2 separate regions of the Homo sapiens genome follow, and region 2 is linked to region 1. Evidence: promoter capture Hi-C in 16 types of primary human blood cells and fetal thymus (Javierre and others, 2016). All regions are on one chromosome and are shown on one strand. Each heading gives the region's core, a stretch centred on a gene start or on the middle of the fragment in contact. The rest is flanking DNA. Distances are from core to core; before and after follow the strand shown.

Evidence for each region. Contacts are between HindIII fragments. The CHiCAGO score rates a contact against its expected background, and 5 or more counts as called.
Region 2: a fragment that was not itself captured here is called in contact with the fragment with the promoter of FLJ20712 in region 1 in 1 of 17 cell types (erythroblasts); the score reaches 5.3 in erythroblasts.

What each region holds. Positions count from the first base shown.
Region 1 is chr7:33,723,961-33,728,299 of GRCh38, reverse strand. It overlaps FLJ20712 (a long non-coding RNA gene), which reads right to left and starts at 2,319. Exons shown (of 2, transcript NR_165282.1): 1 at 2,191-2,319; 2 at 1-772. The HindIII fragment of the contact is 5,749 bases long and covers 1,101-4,339 here.
Region 2 is chr7:33,182,520-33,186,858 of GRCh38, reverse strand. The region is part of intron 5 of BBS9 (Bardet-Biedl syndrome 9); the gene reads right to left. Among named protein-coding and RNA genes, the nearest start is that of BBS9, 55 kb to the right of the region's middle. The HindIII fragment of the contact is 1,993 bases long and covers 1,207-3,199 here.

The sequences.
Region 1 (4,339 bases), core at 1,070-3,569:
TTTTAGACAGGAGACCGAAACTCAGAGATGTTCATTAATTTGCCGTGGCCACACAGCATTGATTGGAAAAGGCAAGGACGAACTGACAACTAAGTTCATGCCCTTTCCAGGGTATCATGTCACCTTTCAAAATTGAGGACCCTAGAATCTTCCAGTTGATCACTCTCTCCATGTGCCCCAGCCTCTTTCTGCCTGCAAACGCAGATCTAACTGGATCCCAGAGACGATCACTACCTCCCTTATTCTTCACCATCTCTATGGAAGGAACCCCTACCTCCTCCCTGGGGCAAGGTGCATGGGAAACTGAGTCTGCACCACCCATGGGGCAAGGCTGCCATGCTTGGACAGAGAGGCCAGGCATTCCAGACAACTCCCCCTGCCCCACCCCCACAAGGAGAGCCTGAGGGGTAGGGTGAGGAGGTGCTGGGGAGTTTCCAGTTTCAGGAGCTGTTTGCCCTAAGATGGAGAAAGACAGGTCACAGCGGTGCTCCAGTGCAGATTTGAACAATTTGTTGCAGCCACAGGAAACTTCCGAAATGTCTTTCCCAGCAGCTCTGCCTCCGCCAGGAGCAGGAGCATGTTTGTGTGGCTGCAGGGCACCGGGAGCAGCGCTCTGTGCTCTCCCGGCTCCCTGTGGCAACAGGAGCAAGAACTTCGGGGGGTCAGGCATAGAAACCACAGCAATGAGATCTGACTTCAAAAACACAGAGCCGCGATGTCCACTTCCAGAACACACAACATCTGGATGGATCACCAACAAGATTCCTGCGACCTGAGGTGGAGGCAGGGCAGGAGGCGTGCCTCGGGCCTTGTGGCTTGTGGGGAAAACCTGTCTCCCTCGCAGCCCCCCACCCCCCTCCTTCACTCACGCCTGCATTGTTGTGGGGCTCCCAAGTGAGTGTTCTCTAAGCACTCTAGTGGCCTCATTCCCAAACACTCCTCCCATCACTTTATCCCCAGCTCTAAAAATTGTTCTTGCTTCCTCTTAGCCTAGAGCAGTGCTTGAAGGAGGATAGAAATTTCCTGGGGGTCTTGTTAAAATGCAGGTTGTGATTCAGCAGGCCTGGGGTGAGCCCGGGCTTCTGCGTGTCTAACAAGCTTTCAAGTCCAAGGATGCTGTTGGTCCCAGGACCACACTTTGAATGGCAAAGGCCAGTACGTATGTCCCAGATTCCTAAGTCTGGTGTTCAAAACTCTGGGCCCCTCCCCCTAGACTACCTTTCTTACCTCCTTGATCTCTTCCCCACCCCTGCGATGCTCCGGGCAGAGTCACCTGCCAGCCCACAGGCACACCCACACCCCAGCTTGCCCACCGCGGGGGTTCTGTGCCCACCATTTCCCTCAGCAGGAAAGCTAGCACCCAGCTCTGCCGTTCAAATCTTACCTCCTTCAAGTCCTAGCCTTCCCATAAAGACCATTGTCTTCCTTACAGGAAGAGCTGCATTCCAGAGCCATGGCATACAAAGGGAACAATCTCTGCTTTCTCAGGAAGTGTCAAACCCAGACACTGTTTGGGAGAGACAGATCTGGGCCGCCTCCCTAGAGTGGTGGAGCAACCCCTGAAAGCTGCCTTGGCTGGGACCATGGCTCTCCGATGGGAAGGCCTGCTGCATGATGGCCCTTTCGGAAGGGCATTCACTAGAGTCTGGTATGCTTAACAATTTGGAAACCAGGGTCCGTCATGCAGTGAATACATGTGTCTGAGAAAATCTGGCTGATACAGATAGAATTTCATTTTCATGCTTCACCTTGGTAAGGCCAAATACCAGCTAATGAAAAGTGGATTATGAATTCTTTTTCTTTTTGAGATACAGTGTCACTATGTCGCCCAGGCTGGAGGTGCAGTGGTTCGATCTCATCTCACTGCAACCTCCACCTCCCGGGTTCAAGCGATTCTCATGCCTCAGCCTCCTGACCTAGCTGGGATTATTGGTGTGCATCACCACGCCAGGCTAATTTTTGTATTTTCAGTAGAGACGGGGTTTCGCCATGTTAGCCAGACTGGTCTTGAACACCTGGCCTCAAGTGATCTGCCCACCTCGGTCTCCCAAAGTGTGGGGATTACAGGTGTGAGCCATCGCACCTGGCCTGTACTTTCTATAAAAATATTTTATACCATCTGATATTTAACTGGAAAATGACTGCAGAACTCTTAGCCATCCTTTGTTTTAAATATTCAAAAGCACTTACCTGACACAGGCCCCTAAGAAAGGCTATCTGGGGCACTCTTTTAGTTTTTCTGTTTTATTCCTGATGGTGAAATTCCAGCCAAGATTTTCTGGTTGTGGAACCTCTTCTGATTCTGCCGTTTCACTGACTGGAAATGATTGCTAATTGGAATGAAAATTTTCATCTTATCTGCCCCTCTGTTATTTTGCAGAGGAGGGTGTGGTGTTATCAGTTTGCAGTGGGGTTTAGGGGTGGTGTCAGCCTTGCAGAAGGTTTGGTGGGTTTTCATTTCCCTGGCTTTGCTATCTGCTGTTTTGAGGGAAATGGGTAACCGGATCTTAGAATCCCTGGATGTGAAGAGATAACATTGACTATAGGCAATTCTATTTACTGATAAAAATAATATAGTTTTCAAACAGTCCCACAATGAGTCACTTCTAAATAGTCAGAAATACATTTCCTGCTATTATTCTTTGAGACTGAATTGATAATTTTATAAAATTACTCCCCTCACTAAGGTAGTCCTATTGAATGCATGCCGAATTTGCAACATGGTCTTAAATCTGCAGTACCCTGGTCTTTTGGGACCCACCAGATATGAATCAAAGTCCCGAGCATATTCTCTCATAAGAAATGTACTCTACTTGCTTCTTGCTGTTCACGTTACCAAGAAAAAGAAATGTATTCTACATCTAGCTCCCCTTCCTGAAAATAACAAAGAATAGCATCAGAGCAAGAGTCAGACAAAATCTACTGGCAAGAGTCCAGAATGTCAGGGCACTAGCTCTTCAGCCATCCCCCTCTTTGGCAAAAGGCAAACATCACAAATCACTGATAAGCCAAAGCCTCATCTAAGCACCGAGTGTGGCTGTGGGCTCTTGAAGCAAAAGTCAAGAGACCTGGATGCTATGTCCTGCTGCTTTGCCCCTCAACAGCTTGGTTACTTTGGGCAAGTCTTTTAATCAATGTGAGCCTCAGCTTCCTTATCTGGAAAATGGGGTTAACGACTGCCCCACTTACCTTGCAGGATGGCTGTGACAGTCAAGCCAGATTGTTCCTGGGCAAGCACCTTCTAAATTTACACAAAGAGGTGAGTGCCATGTGATTGGCAGGGAGTATCCGCTGCCGGTTCTGGGGCTCAACAAAGCAGTTCTGTCTTCTGCTGTGCTCCCAGCCTTCCCTCCCAACCTGGGTTACCTTTTAAAGATAGAAGAATTGGCTGGGAGCAGTGGCTCACGCCTGTAATCCCAGCACTTTGGGAGGCTGAGGCAGGCAGATCACGAGGTCCACAGATCGAGACCATCCTGGCCAACCTGGTGAAACCCCGTCTCTACTAAAAATACAAAAATTAGCTGGGCGTGGTGGCACACACCTGTAGTCCCAGCTATTCGGGAGGCTGAGGCAGGAGAATCTCTTGAACCCAGGAGACAGAGGTTGCAGTGAGCCAAGATCGCTCCACTGCACTCCAGGCTGGTGACAGAACAAGATTCTGTCTCCAAAAAAAGACAGAAGAATTATGGGGGATAGGGGTCGAAGTGGAAGAAGGAAAGCAACAGATATTTTAGAGGGATCAGAGCCCTGTCCATTTCACATGTGATTCTTTGAATCTGTCTCCTGCATGTCCTCACTGAGTCCCCAAACAAATTCCCCAATCCCATCTTGTCACCCAGCTCAGTAACAGAATTAGTTAATCCCAGTTAACCTAGATAACTTATCTTTTCCCCATTCCTAAAGAACAGAGGCCATCATTGTGTCTCCACAGGCTCTCTCAAGGGAGATTACCCTTCATCTTCTCCAAAAGGTGGAGAAGGAGACAGTCCTGATAGAAAAGGGAACCTTCAAAGGATTCTAGTGTCTCCCCGGGACTGGAAGGGAAGGGAGCTGTGATCCCAGGTGTGGAGGCTCTCCTTCTCTGGCAACCCTCGGGAGGTGACAGGGCCTCAGGGAGAAATCGTAGCAATGGCAAAGCTCTGCCAAGGAATGGTGGAGCCACCAGCCTCCCAGGAGCATGAGGACTTAGCAGATGAGCACATCAGTAGTCACCCCTGTGGACCGAAGACCAGAGGACTCTATCCAAACGATCTGGGCGAGTGGCCACAGGAACTGAGAGGAAGGGGCATTTCAGGAAAGTCTGCAACTGAATTTCCTACCATCCTGGCAGGATGGCTAC
Region 2 (4,339 bases), core at 954-3,453, 540 kb after region 1:
TTGCAAGCATTAATTTGTCAAGAGCATAAAAAACAAAGATAAACTAATATTTTTTTAGAACCCAAAATCACATATTCCTTCAAAAAAGCAGCTTGGATTTAAATTTTAAAAAACAACGAACATTTTTAACTTCAAACACACTTCCCCTCTGCAAAAATAAATAAATAAAAGCCCAATACAACCAATTAATATTATAATTTTTGGAGGAATTTTAAATTTTTTTGGACTTTTCTTACAAACCAAAGCACCAACCAGAAAAATAAAACTGAAAAAGCAAACATACGACCCAGAAGTTAACATATTTCCCATAATCTATGAAGAATCAAAGATATGCACTTAACTTTAGCCAAACCAAACTACACTCCATTCTGATAGGAAAGTTTTTTCTGAATGGGGGAGGAGGTAAATTCACTCACAGCCCAATCAAGGAGGCAGTTTAGTGTGACTAATACCAGAAGCCTCTAGATGCAGACAGGCTGGGTAGAAATCCTCCCTCCACCACTCACAGTTACTTTTTCAACCTGTAAAAGCTCTTAGAACACTGCCTGATACAAAATAAGCATTTTGCAGACATAGGGCTATAGCACACCTCTAGATCACTGCAGCTTAGCATTACCTGGAATATTGTCAGAAATTCAGCATTTAAGGTCCAATTTCAGACTTACAAGAATCCGCATTTTAATCACGATCCCCTTATAATTCAAATGCAACTTAAAAGTTTTAAAAAAGTTAAAAGTTTGAGAAGCACAGCTAGAAAGCGCTTTTATATTATATTCTGTTATCTGTTATAATTAACTGTCTTTTAAAAACCCACCCTGTTGTGCAACTCAAAGAAGTTACATTTATTTTTAATAAAAGACAAAGCATTATTATGGGATCAACATTCCTCCATTAGTGATTTCTTGCCATACCTTATTCTAAAGCAGCAGCAACTAAGGCCAAAAGTTATAGAGGACTGCCATCTAGTGTTAGTTCATTTTGACGCACACACAAAATACTGCACACCTCTTCTCCCACTGCCTTTCCATAATTTAAATAACACATTTGCTTAAAACTGTGTTGGGCTTTAGTTTTGTTTAATTCCTTTATTGAGACATGACATGAATACCAAACAATAATTCCATAAGATGCCATATGAAATAGAGGAAAGTAGAAAACAAGGATTTTTAGGTTTCTTTTTTAAATAACATCAACTCCAGGGAAGCTTTCCAATTAAAAGAATCACCCACTCACTACTGGAAAGGTGCACACTAAATATACATTAAAGACATCAGGCTTAGAAAGTGGGCTTTCTTATGAAATGTACAAGTCTTGGAGTCTTACTTTCTTCTACCTAAGTTCTGAACTTTTTGCAATTTATACAGTATTTAAGGACTAAAGCTACTTTCATATTGGAAAAAAATATTTTACAAGTGTCTGACTTAATAACTCAACCTCTCCACTCTATCCTAAGGAAATAATCAGAAATGTAGATAAAGATTTATGTAAAAAGATGTTCATTCATAGCTTTGTCAGAAGCATCGGAACCAAAGCGACTCCACCGTGAATAGGGACTGGGTAAAATGAGGCTGAGACCTACTGGGCTGCATTCCCAGAAGGTTAGACATTCCAAGTCACAGGATAAGACAGGAGGTTGGCACAAGGTACAGTCACAAAGACCTTACTGATAAAACAGTATGTAGTAAAGAAGCCAGCCAAAACCCACCAAAACCAAGATGGCGACCAAAGTGACCTCTGGTTGTCCTCACTACTCATTATCACTAATTATAATGCATTAGCATGCTAAAAGACACTCCCACTAGTGCCATGTCAATTTACAAATGCCATGGCAACATCAGGGAATTACATTGTATGGTCTAAAGAGGGGAGGAAACCTCAGTTCTGGGGAAATTGCCCACCCTTTTCCTGGAAAACTCATAAATAATCCATCCCTTGTTTAGCATTTAATCAATAAATAATCATAAAATAGCCAATCAGCAGCCCTCAGGGCTGCTCTGCCAATGGAGTAGCCATTCTTTTATTCCTTTACTTTGTTAATAAACTTGCTGTCACTTTACTCTATGAACTTGCCCTGAATTCTTTCTTGTTTGAGATCCAAGAACCCTGTCTGGGGGTCTAGATCAGGACCCCTTTCCAGTAACATTCTCCTGGTGAACCATGAAAGAACGATACGAAGGAGACTCCTGACCCAAAGGAAACAGAATGCAGAACCCATTGGCCGACTATGGTTAAGTGGTGGATTAGAGGCCCAACTTAGAAGATTTAAAGTCTCTCCTAAGACAGAATGGGTTAAATGACCCTCTTAATAAAAAGTAAGGATTCTCGACAAATTTGGGTTCGAGACCCAACTTAGGAAGGTTAGAGTTCTTCTTAAGATTTAGGCGGTTAGAGGCCCCTCTCAGTAAAATCTCTTGGTTAAAAATGAATTTGGCATTATGGGATGTTAACCACTATTTTCTTTGGATTAATCTGCCTTGCGCTCTTTGCTGATGGCTGTGGGGGGATTAGGCATGTACAGGATCACCGGACATGGGGAGCTTCTTTTCTCCCCAAAAGGGGAAACTTGAAAGCTGATGGGACTGCTGGAAAAGATCCCTTAGCAAATTACAAGCAACCACCTGAACTTTGTTTAGTGTCACTGCAATGGTGGGTCTTTCTCTAGCTTCCCCTAAGCTCCTCGTCTTCCCACCCCACTGCAGGCAATGCTTTTCTCCCTTCCCTTGCCTTTCTTCTCTCACTCTCTCTCTCTCTCTCTCTCTCTGTGTGCAAACTGCTTATAGGTGTGGTAAAAATCACTACCTCTTGCAATATTTTAATTAATGAGAAAAAGGATTTGTGAGGCTGGTCTTAAGCTATAGCAACTCTGGGGAACTTTCTGCTATAAATGTTTTTTACTATATTCTGTCATAAAGAGGAGTACCTTAAGATTGAACATGGGCTTAGGACACATGGGCTTAGAACAAGCCTGCTGTTCAAGCTAGCCCAGCAAACTAGTCAGCTACAAACTTTGCTGCAGGTTCCTGAAGCAAACAAACAAAAAAAAACTGAATGAGGTTCCCCGCTTGTCTTGTTTTATGTCCTTGGGAGCTTGACCTTTTAAGTACGTGGCAGTACTTTCTCTTGTTCTCAGCCATCTGGAGGACAGGAATTTTGGAGTTTATGTCAGAGCTCTAAAAATTATCTCAAGCAGTTAAAAGCTTTTGCAAGCTCAAAATTGACTGCTCTAGGCTCTTTCTGGGAAGGGCAATGGAAACTGTCCAGTGCTGTAGCTTAGTAACTAAGGCTTATTGGTTTCACCTGTGAGGTTACTTTTGGTAACATTTAAAAGCCAGAAATATTGTCTGTTTGGCCTGGTTAAAGTAGGGTAATAAGAGGTTTATAAGGAATTTTTTTTAAGGAGCACTATGGTTAAAAGTCAGCTTACTTAAAAGCAGATATCCAAGTTATACGTACATTTTAAAGGCCTTTATGTTTTTTTTTCCTCTTCGTGGATTGTGTTTTTCTGGAAAAGGGGTTTTTTCTTCTCAGTCAACTGAATTTTCTCCATTTTGTCTTCTTGACATTCTTGATGCACACGAGAGGACCTAAGATAATATTTAACAGCTTGGGACACCTTGGGAAAAACAGAGGAGGTGCTGCAGACTCCATTTTGGGGGGAAAAAAAGACATCTGTTTCCCTCGTGGAACCCTAAGAATTGAAAATAGATCCCTCTCACATTTTTTACTTTTGGGGGTATTAGAAATTACTTCATATTATGCGAGAGATTTCATGCGTAATAACTAGGTAGGAAATACACTTTTGGGGACAGCTAATGGAAGTTATGGGGGGACACTCAGCTCTTTCCATGTTTGGATCAGAGAAGCATGCTCTTGGCCACCTAGAAGGTATGGAAATGTCCCCATCCCCTACTGAGAGATAAGACTCCCATGGGAAATGGGCTGCTACCCATCCCTTTTTTGGGATCCAGGATCTGGTATAAAAATGGAACCCTTAATTTTGGGGGATCTGTTTCGCCTTCCACCTATACCTGTTTATTAAGGCTAGAAACTGAATGCTTTAAAGGGAAACTTAGAAACTGGCAAATGAAAAATCTTACAACTATTGGATCTTCTTTTGTCTGTGTATTTATATGTGTTGTGTGTGTGATGTTTATATATATCTATATAAGTTCTGATTAATTGGTTTAAAAATAATAGGCACTTAAATATTATAAAAAAATTAAGACTATAATGCCTTTTAGTTCACGTGACTTAAGTAATCTTTGGGAAATAAAAACACAGCTTTAAAGATTATTAGTAAAATAAAGACACTTGGTCTAAATTAGGCAGGTCAGATATT